Linked DNA regions of Homo sapiens: regions 2, 3 and 4 are each linked to region 1. The links are contacts of gene promoters, found by promoter capture Hi-C in blood cells and fetal thymus (Javierre and others, 2016). All regions are on one chromosome and are shown on one strand. The core of a region is centred on a gene start or on the middle of the fragment in contact, and the rest is flanking DNA. Distances in the headings are between cores, read along the strand shown. Region 1 holds the start of GFPT1 (glutamine--fructose-6-phosphate transaminase 1). Region 2 overlaps TIA1 (TIA1 cytotoxic granule associated RNA binding protein). Region 3 overlaps TIA1 (TIA1 cytotoxic granule associated RNA binding protein). Region 4 holds the start of MXD1 (MAX dimerization protein 1).

Evidence for each region. Contacts are between HindIII fragments. The CHiCAGO score rates a contact against its expected background, and 5 or more counts as called.
Region 2: a contact is called between a fragment that was not itself captured here and the fragment with the promoter of GFPT1 in region 1, in 1 of 17 cell types (naive CD8 T cells). The highest score is 5.6, in naive CD8 T cells.
Region 3: a contact is called between a fragment that was not itself captured here and the fragment with the promoter of GFPT1 in region 1, in 1 of 17 cell types (naive B cells). The highest score is 5.6, in naive B cells.
Region 4: the fragment with the promoter of MXD1 here is called in contact with the fragment with the promoter of GFPT1 in region 1 in 3 of 17 cell types (naive CD8 T cells, total B cells and naive B cells); the score reaches 7.5 in naive CD8 T cells.

What each region holds. Positions count from the first base shown.
Region 1 is chr2:69,385,344-69,389,119 of GRCh38, reverse strand. It overlaps GFPT1 (glutamine--fructose-6-phosphate transaminase 1), which reads left to right and starts at 1,893. Exons shown (of 20, transcript NM_001244710.2): 1 at 1,893-2,055. The coding sequence starts at 2,049. RefSeq lists silencers at 1,474-1,583, 1,644-2,313 and an enhancer at 1,542-2,101. The HindIII fragment of the contact is 6,543 bases long and covers 1-3,776 here.
Region 2 is chr2:70,230,375-70,234,150 of GRCh38, reverse strand. It overlaps TIA1 (TIA1 cytotoxic granule associated RNA binding protein), which reads left to right. Exons shown (of 13, transcript NM_022173.4): 3 at 3,297-3,395. Among named protein-coding and RNA genes, the nearest start is that of TIA1, 16 kb to the left of the region's middle. The HindIII fragment of the contact is 3,093 bases long and covers 172-3,264 here.
Region 3 is chr2:70,213,085-70,216,860 of GRCh38, reverse strand. TIA1 (TIA1 cytotoxic granule associated RNA binding protein) reads left to right here. Exons shown (of 13, transcript NM_022173.4): 9 at 362-457; 10 at 569-653; 11 at 1,367-1,490; 12 at 2,367-2,512. Among named protein-coding and RNA genes, the nearest start is that of C2orf42, 24 kb to the right of the region's middle. The HindIII fragment of the contact is 2,188 bases long and covers 505-2,692 here.
Region 4 is chr2:69,913,336-69,917,111 of GRCh38, reverse strand. It overlaps MXD1 (MAX dimerization protein 1), which reads right to left and starts at 2,003. Exons shown (of 6, transcript NM_002357.4): 1 at 1,709-2,003; 2 at 892-991. The coding sequence starts at 1,781. RefSeq lists a silencer at 1,400-1,629 and enhancers at 2,280-2,479, 2,580-2,689, 2,172-2,777, 2,790-2,839. The HindIII fragment of the contact is 7,248 bases long and covers 614-3,776 here.

The sequences.
Region 1 (3,776 bases), core at 644-3,143:
AAGAAGAAAGCAAAGGGTTAAATAGATTACTATAGTTGGAGCATGAGAACTCTGGTAGTACTGCTGACATTTTCTTTGTGGCATTGACAGGTTTGCTGCCAGTGCACAAAGATGTTGCTTAAGCATTGGAACCATACCTTGGCTTTTAGGTAATACAACGGAGTTCTAACCAGAGCCTTAGATGAGGGTTCTGAGGCTAGATGTATATCCACAGTCTTTTGTTTCTTGAATTAAGAAATGTATTATTACCAAAAAGCTCACTGTTTTTTTTTTTTTTAAACTTTGCTCTGGGTGATCCAGGGACCTGTTTAAGGGATTGAAATATCAAAAGGGCTTTTAGGTGAGAAATACTCTGCTTAGTTAAATGTGACATTTTTCAGCTTCTCTGAGGCAAGTGAAAAAAGGCACTTTTCCCCGTAAGAAGAACTGAAAGCCTTATGCTCACTTAATCATATAACCAGCCATAGAAGGTTAATTCCGCTAAGAAAATAGGACTTTTTTTCACTCATTCCAAAATAAATTTGATCTTTTACTTTGTGCTGTGGTCTAAAAGTGTTGGGTATGTAAAATCTAGTTCTAGCTTCAAGAAACTTACAGCCCAGTGGGAAAATACAGAAAATCATAAAATATCAAAGAATATTTCTTTACAGTGAGTAGCTCAAAGAGTAAGAGGTTAATGCATGTCTCCAAGTCTGTCTAGGGGGGATAAAAAAGGCTTTCCTGAAGAGGTAGCATCTAAACAGAGACGTGGTGGGGATTCTATGCAGAGTAACCAAAGTGTGCAAAAGATTTGAGAATCTTGGCCCAGTTGAGGAACTACCTGTTGAGCCTGTTGGGAGTGTATAGGGCTGGAAGGACGGCTAAGACCAGACACATGAACAGCAGTCAGCAGGCTAAGACCAGACACATGAACAGCAGTCAGCACTCCAGGAATTCTGTGTGCCATGTACGTTTTTGATACTACTCTACTCTAGAGCCATTATAGAGTTCTGATTACTCCACATTTGACTAAAGATACCATTTAAGGCTGTTTAAAGCAAATGCCCAGGTAATAAATTCTCAGAAACATCATCCCTCTCTAATCAAGTCTCTCTTGTCAGACATGGCGCATTAATTCATAGAATGAATCGTTCGTAAGTCAAACGCGCGGCTGTTAAAGCTAGGGAATTCCTAGCCGTCTCAGGTGGGTCATGGGAGGAGGTGGGCCAGCAGTTTCTTACGTCCAGGCTCATAGTCGGATAGTTGAGCCTTACATTCCTCCTCTACCCCTCCACAATAAACTGAGGGTTATGGAGGCAACGGATGCGGAGGGCTTTTAGGGGCCAAGCATATTACACAAGGAATTGAATTGCTTATTACCAGAGAGGCTGACCTTTGGGGCTTTACAGTCAAGAATTTTGTTATCTCTCTCCTCCCACCTCAACCTAATTCTTTGCAATTTTTTTCAGCCTTATGTTCCCCAGGATTCCCTTTTCATACTTCCTGCTTTTTTCCTCCTCTTTCCTCGCTTCGTGCAGTGCTGGCGCCTGGGGCCTGGGGCTGCACGGGGCACGCACCCGGGCTATTGCTTTGCTAACAATTCCATCCTTCTCTTTCCGTCATTCCCTGCCAGGTGCTGAGTTTCTCCCTCCCTCTCGGCTCGGTCCCTCCCGCGGCTCGCCCCGGGGCGGGCGTCTCCAGGAACTCCAGGCGGACGCGGCCACGAGCCACTGCCACGTCGCCGCCGCCAGCAGTCCAGCGCCTGCGTGGGCTCGGGGGGCGGGGCAGCGCTGGGAGGCGGGACTTGCGCGTGAGCGGCGCGTGAGCGGTTCAATGGAGCCTACGGGCGGCGGCGCGCTGCGCGCCGAGGGGCGGGGCCCGGCGGCGGTTGCTGGCGGAGCCCGGGAGGCGGAGAAGGCTGTCGTTGCCTTGGCCGTCGCATCCCCGAGGGAGTCGTGTCGGCGCCACCCCGGCCCCCGAGCCCGCAGATTGCCCACCGAAGCTCGTGTGTGCACCCCCGATCCCGCCAGCCACTCGCCCCTGGCCTCGCGGGCCGTGTCTCCGGCATCATGTGTGGTAAGGGGGCCGGGAGCGGGGGGCGTGTTGCCGGGTGGCGCTGGGGTGCGGTGCGGGTGCCGCTAAGGCCCAAGGCGACGGGCGGAAGCGGGAGTGTGGAGGGTGCGAAGTCTGGGTGATGGGCAAGGGGCGCCCAGTGGTGGCTGCGGGGGCGGGGGCCGGCATCCACGGGCGGGAGAGGGGGTGGCGGCCGGGAGAAAGGCACCTGAGAGGAAGGCGGGCCCCCTTTGCCGGGGGCTAGCGGGCGCCTTGGCGCGGAGAAGGAACCGAAAGGGGAGAGAAACGCCTTTATTGAAAAAGGAGGAGAGAGCTGAGGGAATTGAGGTGTGGAGGGGGTTGCCTTCAAAAGGGCCCACCAGGTGAGTGAGGAAACCTGTGGAACCTCGGGCGAGGTCTCTTGAACTTACCTTGCATTTTTCTAAAAATCTTTAAAAAAATATTTTACTTGTTTCTGGGGAGGCCCAATAGAAAACAGACCCTAGCTAGAGCCACGGTAGTGCCATTAAACGTGATACTTCCTGCCATCCCTTGTCTCAACAGAAACCATTGCTAATCAATAACTTGGTTCATGGGCTTAGACCTGATCCTCTGGTGGAAGAGGCCTTCAAATGTCTGTGGCGATAGGTTATACATAATTTATCATTTGCGTGTGCACCCATTAAAAATGCCAGCTCTGAAAAATATCAGTTATACCTTGGATGTATACCCCTTTAGAATACCAACTATGAAAAATATCATTTATCCCTTGCATGTGCATCCATTAAAAATACTAGCTATGGAAAGTTGAGCAAATATCTTTCCTAGAGCCTTAAAAAATTAAGGTTAGGCCCTTTTATTCCATGTTTTGAGAGTCGTTTATTATGACCTAAGTGTTAGTGAAAGAGACTTTGAGAATCGTGTCTGACATGACTGATATCTTCTAAAATTGGTGTTAATTTGGCTATTGCCAGTAAAAATAATTGTATTCTTACCTTTCTTATTGAAATTTACAACCGACTTTATCCCTGGAAGAAAGTACACTTTTTTTTTTTTTTTTTAAAGGGAAGTACCATTGTAAGAGAATTGAAAACTCTCTGGGAGACTTCTTATTTGCAGCCTTTTACACGAAGGAACTGAACAGGAGGTGGATTGTACTCGTTAGTGTATATATTTCCTGTATTTAACTTTATGCTCATTTCAGCTTCTGAAAATGAGGAGCAGGTTTAAATTTAGAGTAGATTAAAAAAAAACCCACATAAAAACAGAAACACCTATAAATAGCTTACTGAAATTATTAGAGTAGAGCTGACTTCAGAATCAGACTTTTGCAGTGTCTACTTAGTAGAATGGTTTTGCATTTAGTTTGGAGCTGTGAAGTAGTGAATTTGCAAACTGGTCAATCTCCAGTGTGCTTCATTTGGTAGTTAACTGTTCCTGAATGATGAGGGGTGTGCCTCATCAAGTACTCAACATTCTGGTTGCAGGTCATTTCATCATGTTCCAAGAAAAAAACGTAGTCAAAGTACTTACTGAAAAAAAAATAAATAAATAAATAAATCAGCGCTGGGCGTGGTGGCTCCCGCCTATAATCTCAGCACTTTGGGAGGCCGAGGCAGGTGGATCACCTGAGCTCAGGAGTTCAAGACTAGCCTGGCCAACGTGGTGAAACTCCATGTCTACTAAAAATACAAAATTAGCTGGGCGTGGTGGTACGCGCCTGTAATCCCAGCTACTCGGGAGGC
Region 2 (3,776 bases), core at 469-2,968, 850 kb before region 1:
ATATAAATCTTCTCTGTTGGTTTGCCTGCTGCTACTCTCTCTCTGGCTGGTCATATGTTTCCCTGGGGAAAGATCATTAGACAAAACGTTAATGATTGCCTTGGCTACAGAAAAAACCAGGTTAGCCTTTGCCACTTTTTATCATTTGTGGATTCTGATCGCTCAAAAGCTTAGATTTTTATTATTCAAATCTAAATTCCAGTCTGTTCACATTCTGAGACTAATGTTCACATTTATAAATTTTATGCTCCCTGGACTGATAATATGTATATATGCTTCGATTCTTATTTAAAAAGTTAGTTTTTTCTGCATATAAATTAAGTAAAGCATATTCTTTTTCATTTATTTACTCTTAAATGCAAGTGACTTTTTCTTTTTTTTTTTTTAGACAGAGTCTCACTCTGTTGCCCAGGCTGGAGTGCAATGGCATGATCTCAGCTCACTGCAAACTCTGCCTCCCAGGTTCAAGCTATTCTCCTGCCTCAGCCTCCTAAGTAGCTGGGATTACAGGCATGCGCCACCACACCTGGCTAGTTTTCGTATTTTCAGTAGAGACAGGGTTTCACCATGTTGGCCAGGTGGTCTTGATCTCCTGATGTCATGATCCGCCCACCCCAGCTTCCCAAAGTGCTGGGATTACAGGCGTGAGCCACCACAGCCAGCCGCAAGTGACTTTTTCTAACTTCATTTCAGTGTTGCCTGTCAGCATTGATCTTGGTAATAGAATTCCCATTGTGTTTTATTAGTTTGAGTTATATAACATTTTTATTCTCTAATTTTTTTAGACAAAATATAGTCCCAATATATTAAACTTTGTCTTGGCCTCGTTGCTTTAAAATTTTTACAAGTCATTGCCAGTGACTCTCAAACTATTAATTGTTGATGTGCACAGTGACTGATGCCTGTAATCCCAACACTTTGGGAGGCAGAGGCTGGAGGATCACTTGAGCCCAGGAATTTGAGACCAGCCTGGGCAACATAACAAGACCACATCTCTAAAAAAAAATTAATTAACTGTACTTGAAATAAAATTGTATATTCCTCTATTTTAGTAGCTTTCTAGTCTTTTGAATTAGTTTTTTATTTTAACAAATCTGTTTAGGAGGCTATGGAAAGAATTTTAAAATGGCCTATAATGTCATTTGATATTTTGCACTGTAGGTGTAAAAATTGGAATTTTTTTCTGCTACTTGAATTTATAATTAAACATCCAGGTTCTATTTATCACATAGCCTCACCTACCTGGAACACCAGCAGAAAAGGGAAGTTTTGTTTTTTTTTTTGAGACAGAGTCTCGCTGTGCGCCCAGACTGGAATCCAGTGGCACCATCTTGGCTCACTGCAACGTCCCCCTCCTGAGTTCAAGCGAATCTCCTGCCTCAGCCTCCCGAGTAGATGGGATTACAAGCACACGCCACCACACCCAGCTGATTTTTGTATTTTTAGTAGAGATGAGGTTTCACCATTTTGGCCAGGCTAGTCTCGAACTCCTGACCTCAGGTGATCCACCTGCCTCATCCTCCCAGAGTGCTGAGATTACAGGCATGAGCTACTGTGCCCGGCCAAGGGAAGATAATTTTTTTTTTTTTTTTTTTTTTTTTTTTTTTTTTGAGACAGAGTTTCACTCTTGTTGCCCAGGCTGGAGTGCAATGGCGCAATCTCGGCTCACCACAACCTTCGCCTCCAGGGTTCAAGCGATTCTCCTGCCTCAGCCTCCCGAGTAGCTGGGATTACAGGCATGCACCACCACGCCCGGCTAATTTTGTATTTTTAGTAGAGACAGGGTTTCACCATGTTGGTCAGGCTGGTCTCAAACTCCTGACCTCAGGTGATCAGCCCACCTTGGCCTCCCAAAGTGCTGGGATTACAGGTGTGAGCCATCATGCCTGGCTGGGAAGATAATTTTTTTTCTTTTTTCTTTTTTCTTTTTTTTTTTTTTTTTGAGACAGAGTCTCGCTCTGTCGCCCAGGCTGGAGTGCAGTGGTGCAATCTCGGCTCACTGCACACTGCAAGCTCCGTCTCCTGGGTTCACGCCATTCTCCTGCCTTAGCCTCCTGAGTAGCTGGGACTACAGGCGCCCGCCACCAGGCCCGGCTAATTTTTTGTATTTTTAGTAGAGACGGGGTTTCACCGTGCTAGCCAGGATGGTGTCGATCTCCTGACCTCATGATCCGCCTGCCTCGGCCTCTCGAAGTGCTGGGATTACAGGCATGAGCCACTGCGCCTGGCGGGAAGATAATTTTTTAAAGGCTTCTGAGCAAGCAAAAAATTGATGTCAGAAAGTTCACATTCTAAAACTTATTCTAAAATTTTACTTACCAGAGAATCTCTTCAGTTTTCAGAGCCTATTTACCTATATTTTAAAACAGGTTTAAGAAGGTTGGCTAAGATTTTCTGCTACTCAGCAAGCTAGTAGCAGCAAGGAGCAATGTACATTTGTAGCAGTAAAAAGTAACTTATAACAGGGAGGGGATAGAAAAATCATAAAAAGCCGAAGTGAGACTTCAGAACTTAGGAGTTCAGTCAAACTTAATCTGTGTAGCTTGAACAAATGGTTATATGATGATGGGGTATGTGTAGCTATATATCCAGTTAGGATACCTAGTCATTAATATTAAATTATAGTACTATAGTATAACCTGTTGAAGAAAATAGCTATGTATAAAAGCAGTGTGATTTTAAGTGTTTGCTTTTTTTTTTTTACTTTTTAATTATTTTAGAGACAGGATCTTGCTGTGTTGCCCAGGCTGGATTCAAACTCCTGGGCTCAAGCATTCCTCCCACCTCAGCCTCCTAAAGTAGCTGGGACTACAGGAGCTGGCTGTTTACTTTTTTGTTTGTTTGTTTTTGAGACGGAGTCTTGCTCTGTCGCCCAGGCTGGAGTGCAGTGGCGCAGTCTCAGCTTACTGCAACCTCCACCTCCCGGGTTCAAGCAATTCTCCTGCCTCAGCCTCCCGAGTAGGTGGGATTACAGGAGCCTGCCACCATGCCTGGTTAATTTTTGTATTTTTTTTTAATAGAGACAGGGTTTCACCACGTTGGCCAAGTTGGTCTCAAACTGCTGACCTCATGATCCACCTGCCTTGGCCTCCCAAAGTGCTGGGATTACAGGTGTGAGCCACCTCACCCAGCCTACTTTTTTAAATCTAAAATTTACTTGTGGAATAGACCATTCATTCTCCATGGCCTGATAACTTAGATGTATAAAACTTGGTTTAAGATTTTTTTTTTTACATAATTTTAAGGTAATGGGTGAATAAAGCTTAAAATTGGCTTTTGTGTTTCTTCTCCCACAGACAGCTGGAAATGATCCCTATTGTTTTGTGGAGTTTCATGAGCATCGTCATGCAGCTGCAGCATTAGCTGCTATGAATGGACGGAAGATAATGGGTAAGGTAAGCTGTCGTAATTAAAGAAGGTGACTTGCACTGAAAAAATTTAAGTTATATATGATTTTGTTTCCTTTTTAGAAACATTAAACACTTTTTTTTTTTTTTTGAGATGAAATTTTGCCCTTGTTGCCCAATCTGGAGTGCAATGGCACAGTCTTGGCTCACTGCAACCTCTGCCTCCTGGGTTCAAGTGATTCTCCTGCCTCAGCCTCCCTAGTAGCTGGGATTACAGGAACGCACCACCACACCCAGCTAATTTTTCGTATTTTTAGTAGAAATGAGGTTTCACCATGTTAGCCAGACTGGTCTCAAACTCCTGACCTCAGGTGATCTGCCTGCCTCGGCTTCGCAAAGTGTTGGGATTATAGATGTGAGCCACCGCGC
Region 3 (3,776 bases), core at 349-2,848, 830 kb before region 1:
AATGTGGAATTTTGGAGAAAAATACGCTAGATTTTAAATGTTAGAGCTGTTCCCGGAGACTTATTGCAGAAATAGATGAGAAGCAAATCAAGACTACTATTCAAAAATGTACTTAGTTTTCATTTTTGTAATTATAAATAATATTATTTCTAATGTCAAGTCTCCTATTAAATAGAAAATACTGGGTAATTTTTTAGACATTCGTGGGGGAGGTTTAATTCTGAACTGAAGTATAATATGTGTAATATAAGCATTTTGATCAAGGTTAATGTTACCTTTACAGTAGTGTAGTGAATGCTACTTTTCTCTTTCTGCACATTTTATTTAATGAATTAAAGACATAAACCTTTTCTCTCACCAGCAAATACCAAACAGCTATCATATGATGAGGTTGTAAATCAGTCTAGTCCAAGCAACTGTACTGTATACTGTGGAGGTGTTACTTCTGGGCTAACAGGTATGGGAGCCTTCCCTGTGTGGCATTAATTTTTAAAGTGCAAAGCTTAATATTTGTAGGATTTTTATATAACTTAGTGTGATTTGTTTGTTTTGGTTTTTTGTCTAACAGAACAACTAATGCGTCAGACTTTTTCACCATTTGGACAAATAATGGAAATTCGAGTCTTTCCAGATAAAGGATATTCATTTGTTCGGTAGGGATGGTTTTTTAAAAAAACATTTTTCTTGGTAATGTAACTGGAAAACCAGAAAATAAATAAAAATAAAAAACTTTTTCCTCCAAAATATTTTTTGAACATTTACCTCGTTTTCTTAAAAATTTACCTTGGTTATAAAAAAGTTGAAATTTTGGCCGGGTGCGGTGGCTCACGCCTGTATTCCCAGCACTTTGGGAGGCCGAGACGGGTGGATCACCGTCATGAGTTTGAGACCAGCCTGGCCAACATTGTGAAACCCCGTCTCTACTAAAAATACAAAAATATAAAAATTAGCCGGCATGGCGGTGCATGCCTGTAATCACAGCTACTCGGGAGGCTGAGGCAGGAGAATCACTTGAACCCAGGAGGTGGAGGTTGCAGTGAGCCAAGATCACAATCACTGCACTCCAGCATGGGCAACAGAGCCAGACACCATCTCAAAAAAAAAAAATTGAAATTTCTCTAGCATCCAGCGTATTTGCCTCTGTGATTTTATAGCTCCCTCCCTAACACAAGGCCAGTGAAACACACATTCTTTGTTAACACAAGTTGCCCCAGAACTACAAGATCTTTGAAAAAAATAGCAAAGAAAATATGCCATGTTACGCAAACTGTTTTACCTCAGACTCACCTTGATTTTTAAAAATAGGTTTTATTCATAAATATTTAAAAGAATTTGTATTGGTGATTCTTAATATTGTTTTCAATAGGTTCAATTCCCATGAAAGTGCAGCACATGCAATTGTTTCTGTTAATGGTACTACCATTGAAGGTCATGTTGTGAAATGCTATTGGGGCAAAGAAACTCTTGATATGATAAATCCCGTGCAACAGGTGAGAGGGTTCTTAACTTTGAGAAGTAATTGTTGGGCTAATAATGTTATTTTAAGGTGAAGATTGTTGATAATCCTTGTTAATAAGTTTCTAGCTAAAATGATAGTATATAAGGGCTCTTCCTACATGTATTATAGTTCCAGAATGGTGTTTCATGGATTGCAGTGGTGACATGATGAATGTGACCGCCTCAATTGACTCATGCTCACACAGTGGATTTTAAAATGCTCCGAGAAACCTAAAAGGGTATTACATCTTTTTTTAATACTTGGTAGATTTATTCACATACCATTTGGAGAACTCACAAGCATGCTTGACTCAACTGAAACAAAAATAAAGCTGTAAATATAGTTATGGCCTTGGCATTTTTCTTCCAGATTTTGCTGCCTTTTTTTTCCAGGCAGCTTTAGTGGTTCAAACTTGATTCCACAAAGATTTCTATGAGGAAACTGTAAATGGAGCACAGAGATGGGAGTAAGCAAATCCTAAACTATATAAGTGTCTTAAGTAAGCTGAATATAGAAATAATTAATCACATCTTCCCTATCTAAAGGAAACAATCATGTAGATAGTATACCAAACACTTAAACATTCTACTAAGTTTAACATTTATTACTAGGGTATCAACTGATGCCTTCCAAAAACTATGCCATTCAGAGTATCACGTAGAGTTACAGCAGTATAACCTCACTTGTTTTGTTGTTGTTTTTTGTTTTTTTTTTTTTTTTTTTTTTTTTTAGCAGTCAACTCTTGTTTATCCTGTCATTTTAATTGTAATGATGGCCCTGTGTGTTTTGGCTAAGAATTTGTGGTATCAGCATATTAGGATTGTATATATATAGTTAACTTCAAGTAATACTAAATTTTATTTAATAGCAGAATCAAATTGGATATCCCCAACCTTATGGCCAGTGGGGCCAGTGGTATGGAAATGCACAACAAATTGGCCAGTATATGCCTAATGGTTGGCAAGTTCCTGCATATGGAATGTATGGCCAGGCATGGAACCAGCAAGGATTTAAGTAAGCATATCTTATGTCTTCCTTTACTAACCTTTGAAAATGTCTAAAGAAATTTTAAGTAGGAAGAAATTTTAAGAATTAGTGGGTAATAGGGCCTCTTATGTAAAGCGTAACTATAGCCTTGAAAGAACTTAAAATTGTTTTTTAGTAAGAAAATAAGAGCTTAATAGTTGTTAAGCTTTTCACATGACTAATGGTCACTTAGCCATTCTTATATACACTGAGTTTGATGCTAGTTGTTGTATTCATTATGCTTTTTTCTGTACAAAGGGTTTTTTCAATATGCCTTGTTACATTGCAAGCTTCCTTATACACCCTGAATTACACTATTTTACTTACATTTCTGAAAAACACACTGGAAATAAAAATACTTGAGAGGTTAAAAAGGAATTTAGTGGGCTGGGCGTGGTAGTTCCTGCCTGTAATCCCAGCATTTTGGGAGGCTGAAGTGGGTGGATCACTTGAGGCCAGGAGTTTGCGACCAGCCTGGCCAACATGGCGAAACCCCACCTCTGCTAAAAATACAAAAATTAGCCAGGTGTAGTGGTGCACACCAGTAGTTCCAGCTATTTGGGAGGCCGAGGCAGGAGAATCACTTGAACCTGGGAGGCGGAGGTTGCAGTGAGCTGAGACTACACCACTGCACTCCAGCCTGGGCAGCAGAGCAAGACTCTGTCTCAAAAAAAAAAAAGGATTTTGTGGTTGGGCATGGTGGCTCATGCCTATAATCCTAGCACTTTGGAAGGCCAAGGCAGGCGGATCACTTGAGTCCAGGAGTTTAAGATCAGCCTGGGCAACATGGCGAAATCTCATCTCTACAAAAGGTACAAAAAAAATTAGCCAGGCATGGTGGTTGCGTGCCTATAATCCCAGATGTTCGGGAGACTGAGGTAGGAGAATCGCTTGAGCCTGGGGAGACGTAGGTTGCAGTGAGCTGAGATCATACCACTGTACTCCAGCCTGGGTGACACAATGAAAACCTGTCTTAAAAAAAAAAAAAAAAGAAAAGAAAAGAAAATCTTGTAATGTTATGAATTTTTATGAGCTTTCATATGCTAATAATTGTTTTGATTTCTTCTTTGAGTAGTATAATGTTCCTTTTTCGTTGTAGGGAACCTACCTGACTCTTTCAGGTAGTGGTTTCCTCAGCAAATATGTTCAACCAAGGCATAGAGATGAGATGGATAGCTTTCTTTTCCAAGAATGGGGTTAGGTTTTTCTATATTCAAAGGAGATGAATGTTGATAAGTTCAGGGTATTTTCT
Region 4 (3,776 bases), core at 754-3,253, 530 kb before region 1:
GAGGGAGGGATAAGGATTCTAAACTAGTGACGAAAAGGTCAATGCTTTTAATTTACTGGCAGGAAAGGTATAGTTGAAGGGATCTAATAGAACAAATTTCCTAGCCAACTATATTTTAAGGGCAAAGAAGGGGGGAAACGGGCAGCAACATTGATGGACTATTTGCATGTACCAGAAACTATGCATAGGACTTTAATATGTGATTTAACTGACCATGAACCAAATCTCCAGTGAGATTCACAGCTTTTAAGAACTACGGTATAAGATAATCGATAAGGCTAACATGGAAAAGTTGTAGCATATTAATATTTTGGTATTATATATTCCTCTATCACTAAAGAGGTAGGTTTTAACCTCAATCATTCCTCTTTGCCATTACAAATAGAGATGACAAATTAGAGTATCAAACAAACCACTGTATTTAATTTACATGTCAAGTATGAGATCCTATCACTTATGCCAAGTCAGGTACTTTAATGTGTTTATAAAATCATTACTATGAAAAGTAAAAGAAATGGATAATGTCCAGCATTTTGACTTATAGAAAACTTGCCCTGAATCTGCAACTTCTGAAGGGAAAATACTGTCACCATTGCTAATCTCACTTGAAGCTTCCACAGATTTTTTTGTTCCAAAAGGGAAGAAAAGTGAAATTAAATTTTGAATAAAGTTCATAAAGAAATGTAAAACATTTCTATTTTTCTTTTCAGTTCCCTCAACCCAAACAGAAACAGCTTCCTGCAATGGCTTAAGTCCATGTGTACATTACTGAATCATGACGGCCACAATGTAATTTTATAGGGTTATAATCACAACAGAAAACTTACATTCAGCAGTTTGTGTCACCTACAATATAATCTAAAAGACAGAAAGAAGTATTTACCAAATTACCTGCTACTGCTGTTATTCTTTTTGGATTTGTTCCTCCGTTTTAAGGCATCTCTGTCCTTGTTATTGTATGGTAACATGGAGGCATAACCATGTTCAGCTTCTAGAAAACAGGAGGATCCAGTTAATGAATGGGCCCAGAATATTTAATGCTCTCTCCTCTCTACAGTATTTCCTTTTTCCTTTATTTATCTTTAAAAGAATATTGTGGAAATAATTAAATGGAGTAAGGTGGAATTCTGAGAACAATGATTTAAAAAAAAATTGTGTGAATATCGTCAATTCGGAGCAGGTGTAAGGAGGATTCCAGCTGCTCATTGTTGAGAAAGACACAGTAGTGGCTAGGCTCACGCAGCCTGGGTTTCCCACTGGCTACATCCAGCAGGTTGGTGCGGGTTAAGTGGAACCAGCTCAGGCGAAGGTGCGGGGCAAGCACCGTGAGCCGGGGACCGGGAGGCGCTGCTCCTCTGCCCAGGAGACTGGGGCGCCGGGCCCACCTGGGGGCCGGCCGGGACCAGCCCGGGTGAGGTAAACCAGGGAGGCTATCGGAGGGGGCCCCGGCCACCCACTCGTGAAGGGCTGGGGAAGGGGCGGCGTTCGGGACCCCGGCGGGCGGCAGCCCCTTCTCCACCCCATTCATTGCTTTGGGGCAGCGGCGGCTTCCCTTCGGACCGCGCGTGGGGAGAGCCAGAGGGGTTGGGAGCGCTCGCGGTCTCCCCGCCTCCAACCACCCCCGGAGCGGCTGGGCGCCCGGACCTGAGGCCGGCCCCACAGGACCCCCGGCCTCGTTTCGAGTGGACCCCTCCCCGTCCCCGTGCACCTCTCTCCCGCCGCTCCAGATAGTCGGCCGCCTCCAGCAGCATCTGGATGTTCATCCGAACCGCCGCCGCCATTCTGCACCGGGGGCCGGAGCCACGGGACCAACCCCCACTGCCCACGGGCTCGCTGCCGCCGCCGGACCGCTGTGGAGCCCGCTATGGAGCCCGCTGTGGAGCCCGCTGTGGACCCCGCGGAGCAGGGCTGAGGGAGCCTCTCTGGCAACCACGCTCGACAAGAGAGGGAGGGGGCCAGTGAGCTGGGCACCGCCGACACAGTGACAGAACCCGGAGCAGAGCAGCAGCCGCCACCGCCGCGGAGTGTTTATCCCCGACTCACCATCTCCCCGCCCCCAGCCCCTTCTCTTGACAGGCCAGCTTCGGCCGCGTTCCTCATTGGGCCCCCCAAAGAATGCCCCGCCCCTACACTTGTGCGATTGGGAGAGGGCTTCAGGGCTCCACCCCGCAAAGTCCGCTCCTCTCGCTGGTTGGTCACACTTGACAAGGCCCGGGCTCCACCCCCTCTTTCCAACTGGTGACAGGATTCGCAACTCCGCCTCGTGCTCCTTCCTTGTTTCCCATTGGTTCTATACCAACAACCCGGGCCCCCTTTTGCTTTGTTAGTATTGGCCAAGAGCTGCAGAAGGCAAGCACCTCGCCGGTCTCCCATTGGTGAAGCCTTCGGAAACCTCCCAGCTACGATGATGTCACCTTTCTCCAGGCCAGGCGAGCCCTAAGTGGCTGATGGTCAGCAGCCTGGCTGCTCCTCACCGGGTCTGGCATTGGCTGGGAGGGCCGGTCCGGCGCTGGGCGGCGCTGATTCACCAGCCGCTGCGGAGCTCTGCTCCACCCGGCCTTGCCTCGGACCTGTTGCCAAGACCTGTCCCCGGGGAAAACTTCCGGGGACCTGCCAGGCGTCCATCGAATGGAAGGCTGGCACCTCGTGTCGCCTGGGCGCTCTGCCCCGCTTGGGTTCGGGGCCGGAGCCCTCGGTCTGGTGGCCGCGGCCCTGGAGGTTCTGGGCTTCGCGGAACTCGGGCTGGCGAGGGCCCAGCCTCGAATCCTCCCGAAGAGCGGTGCAGGCTAGTGGCCGGTGAGCCGGGAGCTAGGGCAGGCGCCACGTGGCTGCTGCGGGGCTTGAGAAGAAAAGCCGGCCGTTGTTAAATGCTCGCCGCTCGGCGTTTTTTCTGCCCTCAAGAAAGAGCTGGAATCGGGCTGCAGTATACAGCATTGAGCTCATGCGCCTTTTCCGCACCCCCCTCCACCCCCGGGAAGTGATGGAATAATTAATTACTTTCACGCGAGCGGCTTTTTAAAGCTCAGAGACTTCCTGAACCTACAGAATGGCATTAAACCCTAAGATTCTTTGCTTAAATCTCTTTTGGGGTTTTCCCCTCCCTTTTAATTCTAGATGAAAACACTCACAAGATTATTGTTTTTGTTTGTTTGTTTTGAAAGGGAGTTTTGCTCTTGTCGCCCAGGCTGGAGTGCAATGGCGCGATCTCGGCTCACTGCAACCTCCTTCTCCCGGGTTCAAGCGATTCTCCTGCCTCAACCTTCTGAGTAGCTGGGATTACAGGTGCCCACCACCACGCCCGGCTAATTTTTGTATTTTTAGTAGAGACGGGGTTTCACCATGTTGGCCAGGCTGGTCTCGAACTCTTGACCTCAGGTGATCCACCCACCTCAGCCTCCCAAAGTGCTGGGATTACAGGCGTGAGCCACCGCACCCGGCCAAGAATACTCTTTAAGACGTCTGCAAATTGTGTGTTTCCGCATGGGGTGGTACCAATATAAATGCTTAATAGAATGTTACGTATACAGAACTAAAAAGGTTAAAGATCGGTCCCTAAACCTATTAAAATTTTTGAAATGAAAGCTATCTGGCAAACCAAGCTACACTGCCAATGTACTGACAGACATCTCCAATTTTAAAAGTAGAAATAAAGTTCTTGGTAGGTTGAGTCCCCAAAATACAAATGAGTAAAGCATGAACATATTTCTTTTTTTAAAAGTTTATTATTGTTGCCAATATATAATAGCTTACTATGTGTAGGTATCCTACCTACATTA